Linked DNA regions of Homo sapiens: regions 1 and 2 are each linked to region 3. The links are contacts of gene promoters, found by promoter capture Hi-C in blood cells and fetal thymus (Javierre and others, 2016). All regions are on one chromosome and are shown on one strand. Each heading gives the region's core, a stretch centred on a gene start or on the middle of the fragment in contact. The rest is flanking DNA. Distances are from core to core; before and after follow the strand shown. Region 1 overlaps RNF212B (ring finger protein 212B). Region 2 holds the start of LOC105370406 (a long non-coding RNA gene). Region 3 holds the start of MYH6 (myosin heavy chain 6).

Region 1 (4,153 bases), core at 1,569-4,068, 160 kb before region 3:
ACTCGGCCTGCTAACTTATAGCTTTATTTCTTTGAACCAGTCATACTTCCTCACATGTAATATGAAATAATAATACTTATCCTACTTCTTGTAAAGATCCAATGAGACAATGTTTATGGAAATATTTTAAAAACTGTAAAGTACTTTAAAAAAAAACAAACAAAAAACAGAGACAGTCTTGCTATATTGCCCAGGCTGTTCTCAAACTCCTGGCCTCAAGCAGTCCTCCCACCTTGCCCTACCAAAGTGCCAGGATTACAGGTGTGAGCCACCATGCCCAATCTGAAAACTGTACTTTATTAGTTTAAAGAATAATGTGGAAAAGTCATGAAAGGTTATGAGTGATCACAAACCCACTTAAAAATAGTTGAAGATCATATAAGTGAAAAGAAGTTTGTATTTTAAAAAATTGTTGGCCGGGTGTGGTGGCTCACGCCTGTAATCCCAGCACTTTTGAAGGCCACGGTGGGTGGATCACCTGAGGTCCGGGGTTCGAGACCAGCCTGACCAACATGGAGAAACCCCGTCTCTACTAAAAATAAAAAATTAGCCAGGTGTGGTGGCACGTGCCTTTAATCCCAGCTACTCGGGAGGCTGAGGCAGGAGAATCACTTGAACCTGGGAGGTGGAGACTGCGGTGAGCCAAGATCGCACCATTGCACTCCAGCCTGGGCAACACGAGCAAAACTCCATCTCAAAAAAAAAAAAAATTGTTTTCAAGGGGAAGTATAAACACCCCATCTACTTTTTTTTTTAGGTCCACTAGTTTTCATGCAATCACCTTCTTTTTTAATAACAGCTTTATTGAGATGTAATTTACATACCATAAAATTTACCCTTTTAAAGTATGCAATTCAGTGGTTTTTAATACATCCACAGAATTGTGCAAACACTACTGCCTAATTTTCAAACATTTTCATCACCCCAGAAAGAAGCTCTGTACTTATCGGCAGGCACTTCCCAAACCCTTCCCACCCTCCCCATCCCCAGGCGATCACTAATTTACTTTCTGTTGCTATGGTTTTTCCTGTTCAGGGCATTTCATAAATATGGAATCATATAATGTATGGTCTTTTGTGACTTGCTGCATTCACTAAGTATAATGCTCTCAAGTTTCATCCATGTTGTAGCATCTCTGTTAGGACTTTATTAGTATTTCATTCCATTTTATGGCCAAATAATAATCTATTATATAAATGGATATACATTTTACTTATCCATTCATTAGTCAATAGACATTTGGGTTGTTCCTACTTTGGGGCTATTATAAGTAATATTGCTATGGAACATTTATGTACAAGTTTTTACATGGACATATATTTTTATTCCTCTTGGGTATATACCTACGAGTGGAATTTCTGGGTCAAATGGTAACTCTATATTTAACTTTTTTAGGAACTGCCAGACTGTTTTCCCAAGTGGCTGTACCATTTTACATCCTTAGCAGCTCTTTTAGTCTGTCTGGGCTGCTATAATAAAATACCTTAGACTGGGCAATTTCTAAATAACAGAAATTTAATTTTAACAGTTCTGGAGGCTGGGAAGTTCAACATCAAGGCACTAACAGATTCAGTGTCGGGGGAGGGCTTACTCTTTGCTTCCAAGATAATGCCTTCTTGCTGCATCCTCACATGGCAAAAGTGGCAAACAGGCTCCTTCAAGCCTCTTTTTATTTAGTTTTTTGAGACAGGGTCTCACTCTGTCACAAAGGCTGGAGTGCAGTGGTGTGGTTGTGGCCAGTGGTGCAATCATGGCTCCCTGCAGCCTTGCCCTCTTGAGCTCAGGCGATCCTCTCACCTCACCCTCCCAGGTAGCTGGGACTACAAGCACATGTCACCACACCTGGCTAGTTTTTGTGTTTTTTTTTTTTTAATAGATACAGGGTTTTACCATGTTGCCCAGGTCTCGAACCCCTGGGCTCACGCAATCTGCCCGCCTCAGCCTCCCAAAGTGCTGCAATTACAGGCATGAGCCACCACGCCCAACCCCAAGCCTCTTTTTTTTTTTTTTTTTTTGAGACAGAGTCTTGCTCTGTCGCCCAGACTGGAGTGCAGTGGCACGATCTCGGCTCACTGCAATCTCCGCCTCCCGGGTTCAAGCAATTATCCTGCCTCCACCTCCTGAGTAGCTGGGATTACGGGCATGCGCCACCACACCTGGCTAATTTTTGTATTTTTAATAGAGATGGGGTTTCACCGTGTTGGTCAGGCTAGTCTCGAATTCCTGACCTCGTGATCCGCCCACCTCAGCCTCCCAAAGTGCTGAGATTATGGGCATGAGCCATCACGCCCGGCCCCCAAGCCTCTTTTTATAAGGACACTAATCCCATTCACAAGAGCAAAGCCTTCATGACATAATCACCTCCTAAAGCCTCCATCTCTTAATACTATTGCATTGGGAGTTGAGTGTCAACAAATGAATTTTTGTGGGACACAAATATTCAGACCACAGCAGGCCAGTAAATATTTTAAGCTTTGCAGGCCATACAATTTCCGATGCTGCTACCCAACTCTGCTGTTGTAGCATGGAAGCAGCCATAGACAGCATGTAAGCAGCCACAGACAGCATGTAAGCAAATGTGTGTAATTATGTTCCAATAAAACTTATTTACAAAAACAGACAGCTGGTTATGGTCAGTTGTTTGCTGACCCTTGGTCTATTTTATGGTTTTTAAAAGATTTTTGAAGTCATATGTTTTTACTAATATATACATACATAATTGCTACATATACTGTTGGAATAAAATCAGGTCAAGATTTGATCTCATCAATAGACCAGAGCTTCTCCATCCCTCAGCTGAATTAAGAATTTGAACAACTGAGGTACTCAGTGGGCCAGGCGCAGTGGTTCATACCACTTTGGAGGCCAAGGTGGGAGGATTGCTTGAGGCCAGGGGTTTGAGACTAGCTTGGGCAACATAGTGAAACCCCTTCACTACAAAAAATTTAAAAATTAGCTGGGCATGGTGGCACACACCTGTAGTCCAGCTACTCAGGAGGCTGAGGTGGGAGAATTGCTTGATCCCAAGAGGTTGAGGCTGCAGTGAGCCATGATTGCACCACCATACTCCAGCTTGTGTAAAAATAAAAAATTAAAAAGAGATACTCAATGGTGCTTTTGAAGAAAAGTTGTATTTAGTTTGATATTATTTTACCTAAAAAGGAAAAGCTTTCAGTATTTAGGACTTCTGAAACAGTGTAGTTGAATTCTTCATCACTACTGAGCAGGGGATTGAGGAACCTTAGGCCAGTGTGAGGTAGTATTCCTTTGATCATACAAACTGTGCAACCCAAAACATAACCCTCTGCCTGGTGGGCTGCTGTGGCTCTCATCCAGAGTGGGTACTTCAGACATCTTACTAACAATTCTCCAATTGCTTTTGCTAAGAAAGCATTTTTAGGGTTCTTTTTTCCTCAAATCTGTTCCCTCTGAACCGTCACGATAATCTATTTCAATTACAAATCTGAACAAGTAACTGCCTTTTCAAAATCCTTTGGTGGCTTCCTATCACTTAAGTTTCAGACTGCTCAGAGTGATACATAGTTACCTTAACGTTCTGGTTCCTCCTAACCTCTCCAATTTCAATCACAACTACCATCTCACCTCTCATGTACAAACACAAGTTATTACGTAAGGTTATTTATTACCTAATCTATTAGGCAGATTCAGTTCTTTGCAGTTCTTTTACAGACCATATACTTTCATACCTTTATACCTGAAATGCCTGATTTCTACACTTTAAAAACTAAGTTAGGCCAGCCGTGGTGGCTCACGCCTCTAATCCCAGCACTTTTGGAGGCTGAGGGGGTGGATCACTTGAGGTCAGGGGTTCAAGATCAGCCTGGCCAATATGGTAAAACCCTGTCTCTACTAAAAATACAAAAAATTAGCCAGGTGTCATGGTGGCGCGTGCCTGTAATGCCAGCTGCTTGGGAGGCTGAGGCATGAGAATTGCTTGAACCTGGGAGGCAGAGGTTGCAGTGAGCCTAGAATGTGCCACTGCACTCCAGCCTGGGTGACAGAGCGAGACTCTGTCTCAAAAAAAAAAAAAAAGACTGAATTAATAATTACCTCTTAATCATTATCTCTATATCTTGTAAGTACTTGTGTTCTGCGTATAACCTAGTGTTTTACTTATTAGTTCATGTGTCAG
Region 2 (4,315 bases), core at 676-3,175, 190 kb before region 3:
GGAGTCATGAGGCGGAAAGAAGAAGTATTGAGACAATTCATCCACATTCTCCTGTCCCTCTGGGTATCAGCAAATCACTGCAGAGAGCTAAACTTCCACCCCGACTCGGCAGCAAGAAGGTGGTGGGAGTCAGTGCTCAGCTTTTCCTGGAAAGGTGTCAGTGGGACCCAGTGGGGAGCTGAACATTTACCACTTTTAGGAACTGTGTGCTCTACCTAAACAGGGTGACTGCATGCCAAATGAAGAAAGAAAGAGAGAGAAGAAGTGAGGAAGAGAGGTAGAGAGAGAGAAAGAGAGGCAGAGAGAGAAAATGATTCAGCCTCACAAAATAATACTCAAAATGCTTAGTATATAATCAAAAAGCACTCATCATACAAGAACCAGGAAAATCTCAGTTTAAATGGAAAAAACCCCAACAGTCAACAGGCACTAACATTTCAGTGTTACATAGATGTTAGCCTTATCTAACAAGGATTTTAAAGGAGCCACCATAAAAAGTGCTTCAATGAATTGGGTGTACCTGTAGTCCTAGCTGCTTGAGAGGCTAGCACAGGAGGATCACTTGAGCCCAGGAGTTCGAGGTTGTAGTGTGCTGTAATGTAATCCATAGGCAACATAGTGAGACTCTGTATCTTTTTTAAAAAAGCTTCAATAAACAATTACAAAAACACTTATAAAATTTTTTTAAAGTAGAAAGTCTCAGCAAAGAAATAGAAGATACAAAGAAAAACTAAGGCTGGGCATGGCGGCTCAAGCCTGTAATCCCAGCATTTTGGGAGGCCAAGGCAGGTGGATCATTTGAGGTCAGGAGTCTGAGACCAGCCTGGCCAACATAGTGAAACCCCGTCTCTACTAAAAATACAAAAGTTAGCTGGGCATGGTGGTACATGCCTGTAATCTCAGCTACTTGGGAGGCTGAGTCAGGAGAATCGCTTGAACCCAGGAGGTGGAGGTTGCGGTGAGCCCAAATTGCGCCAATGTACTCCGGCCTGGGCAACAGAGTGAGACTCAGTCCCCCCAATAATTAAATTAAATTAAAATTTTAAAATTAAATTAATTTAATTTAAAAAAAGGACAACCAAATAGAAACCTCAGACCTGAATAATATAACCAAAAAAATGTTTAAACTTCATTGGATAGGATCAATAACAGAATGAATAAAGCATAGGAAAGTCAGTGAACTTGAAGATAAAATAATAATAATAATAATCAAAATAGAGAGAAAACGGGCATAACTAATGTCAGGACTTCAGAAATCAGATTTAACATTTGTGTCATTGTAGTCCCAGAAAAAGAGGAGAAAAAGAGGAGAAAAAATGAAAACATATTAGAAGAAATAATGGCTGAAACCTTTCCAAATCTGTTGAAAGAAATAAGGCCACAAATTCAAAAAGCTGAGTGAACTTCAAGAAGAATAAACCCAAATAAATCCATGCCAAGACATATCATAATTAACACTAATAATTTTCAGAAAAAAATAAAGACAAAGTCTTGATAGCTAGAGAGGAATGATACATTACTGATATGATTTGGCTCTGTGTCCCCACACAAATCTCATCTTGAATTGAATTGTAATTCCAATGTGTTGAGGGAGGGACCTGGTGGGAGGTGATTGGATCATGCGGGCAGTTTCCCCCATACTGTTCTCATGATGGTGAGTGAGTTCTCATGAGACATGATGGTTTAAAAGTGTTTGGCAGTTCCCCCCACCCCTCTGCCTCTCCTGTTGTCATGTAAGGTGTGCCTTGCTTCTCCTTCATTTTTTGCCATGATTGTAAGTTTCCTGAGTCCTCCCTAGCCGTGCAGAACTGTGAGTCAATTAAATCTCTTTTCTTTATAAATTTCCCAGTTCTTTATAGCAGCATCAAGACAGACTAATACAGTTTCCTATGGAGAAACAAAGATTCAAATGACAGTGTATTTCTCCTTAGAAACCATCAATTCTTAAACCCAGGAATTTGAGCTTACAATGAGACATGATTGTGTCACAGCATTCTAGCCTGGGTGACAGAGCAAGACTCTGTATCTTTAAACAAACAAACAAACACACACACAAACAAACAGAAATCATCAATGCCCAAAGAAAACTGCACAACATTCTTCAAGTGCTGAAAGAAAGGAACTGTCCATCCAGAATTCTATACCCAGCAAAAATATTCTTTAGGAATAAGGTGAACTCAAGACATTCCCAAATGAAGGAAAACTAAGAAAAGGGGTCATGAGCAGATGTACCCTAAAAGAATGGCTAATGAAAATTTTTCAAACAGAAAGGAAATGATAAACGAAAGACACATGGAACACAATTAGTGAAAAAAGAACAACAGAAAGAGTAAAAACATGGGTAAATGTTGACTATCCTTCTCCTAGTCCTTATCCATTCTTAGTGAGTTATCTAATTATGTTTCATATTGAATTACATTGACACCACTAGACTGAGTTATTTTATGCATGTATAATGTAATCTCTAGAGCAACCATTAAAACATTTGCCGGGTGTGGTGGCTCATGCCTGTAATCCCAGCACTTTGGGAGGCCAAGGCGGGCGGATCACGAGATCAGGAGATCGAGACCATCCTGGCTAACACGGTGAAACCCCCATCTCTACTAAAAATAAAAAAAATTAGCTGAGTGTGGTGGCGGGTGCCTGTAGTCCCAGCTACTCTGGAGGCTGAGGCAGGAGAATGGCGTGAACCTGGGAGGCGGAGCTTGCAGTGAGTCAAGATCGTGCCACTGCACTCCAGCCTGGGTGACAGAGCGAGACTCCATTTCAAAAAAACAAAAACAAAACAAAACAAAACAAAATCTATACAAGATGATACATTCCAAAACATTATAAATAAATAAAAATGCAATTCTAAACAATGTTCAAGTAACCTACAAAAAAGCAAAAAGAAGTGAAACAGAGGAATAAAAAAACAGAGGAACATACAGAAAACAAAGAATCAAATAGCATACTTAATCCCTAACATATCAATAAGTACATTAAATTTAAATGGTTTAACTGTATCAATCAAAAGATAGACGTCGACAGAACAGATTAAAAAACAAACATGACCGAGCACAATTTCCAAACAAATAAATTATGCTAAGTAAAAAAAAAAAAAAATAATAAGGCCAATCTGGCTGGGTGTGGTGGCTCACGCCTGTAATCCCAGCACTTTGGGAGGCCAAGGTAGGCAGATTGCTTGAGCTTAGGAGTTCAAGACAAGCTTGGGCAACATGGTGAAACCCCATCTCTACCAAAAATCCAAAACTTAGCTGGATGTGGTGGCATGCATCTGTGGTCTCAGCTACTTGGGAAGCTGAGGTGGAAAGATTGCTCAAGCCTGGGGAACAGAGGTTGCAGTGAGCTGAGATTGCCCTACTGCATCCTAGTGTGGGTGACTGAATGTGACCCTGTCTCAAAAAAAAAAAAAAAAAAAAAAAAAGACCAATCTCAAAGGTTACAGATTGTATGATTCCACTTATACAACATTTTAAATGATAAAATTATAGAACTGGAGAGCAGATTAGTGACTGACAGATGTTAAGAATGGGGACAGGCACAGAAGGGTAAAGCAACAAGAAGGTTCCCGGGGTCCCTGAGTCCAGGCCTAGGCTCTTGGACAGCATTTCTGAACCTGCTATGGACCAGAGTGGAGCCCCCTGCCCTGAAGGGTGAGTCTTAGGCCTGGCAGAATTCACCACAAGCTGACAGAGAAGCTCCTGGGTTTTAAGTTAACATCAGCAGTGGCCTGGCAGAACCACCATAGACCAGTGGTGGCAGTGGTGGCAGTGGTGGGGGGGGGGCTCCTCTGCCTGTGGAAAGGGGAGGGAAGAGCGGGAAGAACTTTATATTGTGGTGTGAGTGCCAGCTTAGCTGCACTAGGACATCAGCTAAACTGCTAAGATTTTTAACTTCAATTCCTGGTTCCCAGAGAGCATCTCTGGACACCTCTGAGTCCTGGGGAACTCGCTGCCCTGAAGAGAAGGGCCTTGGCCAAGAAATAGTGCTGTGCTGGCTTCATGTCTGACCCAGCACAGTCCCAGTGGTGGTTGCCACATGGGTGCTTGCATCGCCACACCCACAGCTCCATGCTGCTGAGCACACAGAGAGAGAGCTTCCATTTTGGGGTGGGGGAGAAAGTAAGGGAAAAGAATAAGAGTCTCTGCTTGGTAATCCATAGAATTCTTCCAGATCACATCCAAGACCACCAAGGTGGTACTTCTATGAGTCTGCAAAAATCACAGTATTACAGGGCTTGGGACCCAGGTCTGTTTGAATACCTAGAAAGCCTTCCTAAGAAGGACAGGCACAAACAAGCCCAGACCACGAA
Region 3 (4,089 bases), core at 1,364-3,863:
GTTGAAAAGCACCGCGGGCTCGTGCAGGAAGGTCAGCATGGCCATGTCCTCAATCTTGTCGAACTTGGGTGGGTTCTGCTGCAACACCTGGTCCTCCTTCACAGTCACCGTCTGGAGGGGGCGCATAAGCAGGAGGATGAGTGACCACAATCCCTCCGGGACCCTTGCCAGCACTGCCCACTGACCTCCTCCCAGGACACAGGGACTTGGCCTTGCTCCCCTTGCTCTGACCAGTGCCCCGGCCCCTACCCCGATGTCCCCTGGGACACTTTCCCCAGGTAATTTCCCTTCCCATTGTATCTCCCATCCTAGAGACTGTCCTAGGGTACCTTTCTCTTGCCAGATCCCCAGACCATCCTGGGGACACCCTGTGCCCATGACCATCACTCTTCAGTCCCTATGTTCCAAGGGTCTTGGGGCAGACCTGGAGATTGGCAGCTCTCAGATCTGTGCACACCTTATGCTGACCCCGAGGCTGTCTCCCGCGGGCAGCGCTTTAGGGTATCTGTTGCTCAGGGCAAACCTTCACCCCTGCTGGAAAAGTAGTTCACCCATCTACTCCACACTCCCCATCCATCACTGTTGGTGTGGTTTGATTGGCAGCAGTCAGTTTGCCATGCCCTGATGTCATTAGATCCTGCCAGTAGGTATTCCAGTGTTTTTTATAGTGGAGAAATCCGTGGCTCTAAATGACTAAATGATTTGCCTGCACAGTGACTAGCGGGTGGCAGAGCTGGGATCAGAGTCAAAAGCCCCAGGGGATTGTGGCCTGTTATTCTACACTTCAATGGGTTGTAACATTCAGTCAACGAGTTCATGAGGCACACAGCCCTGAGCCGCAGCTGGTAACCAGGGGTGATTCTCTTGGCTGGTGTGAGCAAACCAGGGACCAGAGCTTCTGAGTGCCAGTCAAGGAGAGTGCTCAGCTCAAAAGTTTCTGATCTTTGTGTTCATCTGGGTCTAAGAATTACTCTTGATTTGGGTGAACGGAATTTGAGAAAGTGGACTCATGGAGGAAACTGAGGCACAGGGAAGAGGGATACAAGTGCAAGAAGGGGGCATCATTTAATGCTGTGTCTGTGCCCTCTTTATCTACAAGACCCCTCTTAGGCGAACACTGAGGTTCTTCTTCCTCAGCATCCTCTCTGGCAGGGGGAACATGGCCCTGGGTGGCACCTGTTGCACCAGCTCAGGTCAATTTGAGAGGGATCAGATTCTGGGCTCCTCAAAGGAGCATGTCCTGGCATCCCCACTGGCCTTGGCTTTTCTCCAGCCCTCTCAGCTCCCCCTGCAAGTGGCTCCACCTCTGCATCTTCTTTCCCAGACCTCCTTCCCTTCTGCCCCGGCGCCATGCCCTACTCACCTTCCCATTCTCGGTTTCAGCAATGACCTTGCCTCCCTCCCGGGACAAAATCTTGGCTTTGACAAACTCTTCCTTGTCATCGGGCACGAAGCACTCAGTGCGAATGTCAAAGGGCCGGGTCTGGGCCTCTAGACGCTCCTTCTCTGACTTGCGGAGGTACTGGGCCGCTGCCCCAAAGTCAGCCATCTGGGCATCGGTCATCTTGGTGCTTCCCCTGGGTCAGAGACAGGAGGGCTATGTTACTCCTGAGGGAGCCCAGGCTCCAGCGAGTGGCTTTGTCCTCTGCAGCCCCCCTCCCTACCCCCGCTCCTCTCCTCCACCCTGGGAGAGGCACCTGCTGTTGCACCCTCCCCTACTCAGGGCTCTGCTTCTCCTGCCCTCTGAGGTGATGCTGAAGGACAATCTCTGTAAGGGGTTTCCCTGGGGTGGCATTGGCTGGAGTATGCTAAGGGTTGGCGCTGAGTGCTTGGGACAGCAGACCCCTGGTCCAGCAATCCGGCTCCCAGGAGAAGCATGCCCCAGTCTCTGCAGAGAAAATGGGGGCAGTTCTCACCTGGTTATCCCTTCACGGAGAATCCTGAAGAATCTGGACCGTGGGTGGAGCAAGGAACAACAGAGGTAGAGCCGGGCAGAGAGAAGAACAGATGAGGAGAGTGAAGAACAACAGAGGCAGGCCACCCGGGGATGGAGGCAGCCCCAGAGCGCAGACAGGCAGGACAGACCAGGGAGTCAGAAAGGGAAAGACGCAGAGGCAGAAAAGAAAGGGCACCGAGTCAATATGAGTGCGAGGGACGGGGTGTGGAAACAGGGTTAGAAGCAGAGAGGCAGGGAGGTGAGAACACGTGCCAAGAAGGAAGGACAAGGGAGAGAGACAAAGAAGCATGATTGTGACAAGTGTCGATGAAGACCAAGAGGCAAGATAAAACCAGGATCAAGGGAAGGAAGCCATCCAAAGGAGGAAGGAAGATGGAAAGATGGAGACAACATGTAGGAGACTCAGAATGATGCAGAGAAAGAAATGGAGAGTCAGAGAAGGAGAAAAGAGGTTTCTGGGTTTCCTGTGGAACCTCCTTGTGTCAGGGGGAACTTCCCTGGGCCTGGAGATAGGCAGTTTTAATAGAGCCCTTAGGCCTCCAACTGACCTGCACCCCACTCCTGGTGAAGGAGGTCCCTCACGGTGGGGGCTCTGTGGACGGGCTGCAGGGCATCCCACCCCAAACCTCCTCTTACCTGGGCCGCAGGAGTCTCTCTATCTGTCCTCAAAGCTCCAGTTCCTTTATATCCCGTTTCCCCCACCCTCTGTCTAAATTTGGAGTCCTTCCGGAGGGACCCTCCCTCCCACCTCTCTCCCCTCCTGGCTCCTCCTCCTTTGATCCTTTGGCTCTGGAGGTGACAGGAGGACAGCAGGGCCCCCTGATTTGCCCAAGAAAGGTCTGCTGCCCCAGCCTCTCTGGCTCCACGGCCTTTTTTTAGTCCTTGGGCACATTCCTCCCCTTCAAAGGGCTGATGAGCAGATAGTGGGAAGACAGGACCTTCTCACACCGCCTCTCCCACCCTGCCATGGCCCTTACCTCAGTTATTTTTAACCCGAAGGGTGAACTGAAAACATGGGTGAGGGTCACCTTCTCCTGCAGGCCAAATGCCTGTCCTCCGCCTCCCAACCATGGGCTTTCCTCCCCTGTTCCCCAGCCTCTCCTTCCCATTCTGACCTCCCTCACACAGTCCCAGGCTGGGAGCATCTTCCTGCTGTTAGTACTGGAGCCCCCAGTGCTAGGGACTAAAAGCTGCAGTATGGTGCCCAGGGAAGGGATCTGTTGTCCATCTCCATGGCTCAGTTTTCTTTTGTCAGGAAATTCTGTCCTGGCCTCAGTCTGCATAAGTGCCATGCCTGGTCTCCTTCTGTTCCCCAAGTCTTCAGACAAGTGTTCTCCCAAGGTCTTGAGGCCACCCTGGTTTGGGGACACGTCTGGAGTCCCCACCCCTTCCCTAATGCTCCTGATAGAGTGGCCAACATCCAACCTGCTCACGCAATGGCAGTGATTCTCCCTGCCGCCTCAGGCAGATTTTCACACAGAACCCCAGTTCAGCACTCTCACATACAGACTTGACCGTGTCTGTGCCCATCTTCAGCCACACATGCAGATTTTTCACACTTACCCACTCAAGCTTGCAGATTTCTTTTCTACTTTCTTTTGTGTACATGGATGCACACATTTGCACATCCGCATTTGCACACATAGGCTTTTGCCCTCCCCTGCTACCCTCTGCTCCTGGGGTGGGGTGGGCAGAAGAAGATGGTGCTAATCCTAGGGCCTGAGAGAGGAGGGGGGTGGGTGAGGGGCTGTCCCCTTCTGCCTCACCGGGCTGCCAGAGGGTGCAGGTGCCTGGCAGGCCTGGGGATTTACACCATCTGGTCCCCAGGCACTGCATTCCATCGGGGTGGGGCTCTGCCACCTGCCCCCTCCCCAGGCAGAATTTTGTTGCCCCTTTCCAAGCCCTCCAGGGCTTATACTCACATTCCCTTCTTTGTGGGTGTCCTCAAGCACCCTAGGCCCTCAAGGCCCCGCTCCCCATCCTCCAATGCTGCCATCTCTCAGAGGCTGTAGGTGTCAGGTCTTCAGCAGGCTGTTCCTGTTATGACTAAGTGGACATTGTGTTCAGGAAACAAAGCCAGACTCCCCTGCTCTGGCCTTCCCCCCACCCTCACACCCAGGAACACCCTCCCA

What was found. The method cuts DNA at HindIII sites, captures the fragments that hold promoters and counts their contacts. A CHiCAGO score of 5 or more calls a contact.
Region 1: a contact is called between a fragment that was not itself captured here and the fragment with the promoter of MYH6 in region 3, in 1 of 17 cell types (naive CD4 T cells). The highest score is 6.1, in naive CD4 T cells.
Region 2: a fragment that was not itself captured here is called in contact with the fragment with the promoter of MYH6 in region 3 in 1 of 17 cell types (naive CD4 T cells); the score reaches 5.1 in naive CD4 T cells.

The regions. Positions count from the first base shown.
Region 1 is chr14:23,246,445-23,250,597 of GRCh38, forward strand. The region is part of intron 4 of RNF212B (ring finger protein 212B); the gene reads left to right. Among named protein-coding and RNA genes, the nearest start is that of RNF212B, 11 kb to the left of the region's middle. The HindIII fragment of the contact is 696 bases long and covers 2,471-3,166 here.
Region 2 is chr14:23,213,478-23,217,792 of GRCh38, forward strand. It overlaps LOC105370406 (a long non-coding RNA gene), which reads right to left and starts at 615. Exons shown (of 4, transcript XR_943606.3): 1 at 521-615. It also overlaps a transcript of RNF212B not described here. The HindIII fragment of the contact is 2,562 bases long and covers 645-3,206 here.
Region 3 is chr14:23,405,660-23,409,748 of GRCh38, forward strand. It overlaps MYH6 (myosin heavy chain 6), which reads right to left and starts at 2,614. Exons shown (of 39, transcript NM_002471.4): 1 at 2,594-2,614; 2 at 1,917-1,949; 3 at 1,364-1,577; 4 at 1-111. The coding sequence starts at 1,564. RefSeq lists enhancers at 1-3,784, 1,467-1,967. The HindIII fragment of the contact is 15,953 bases long and covers 1-3,527 here.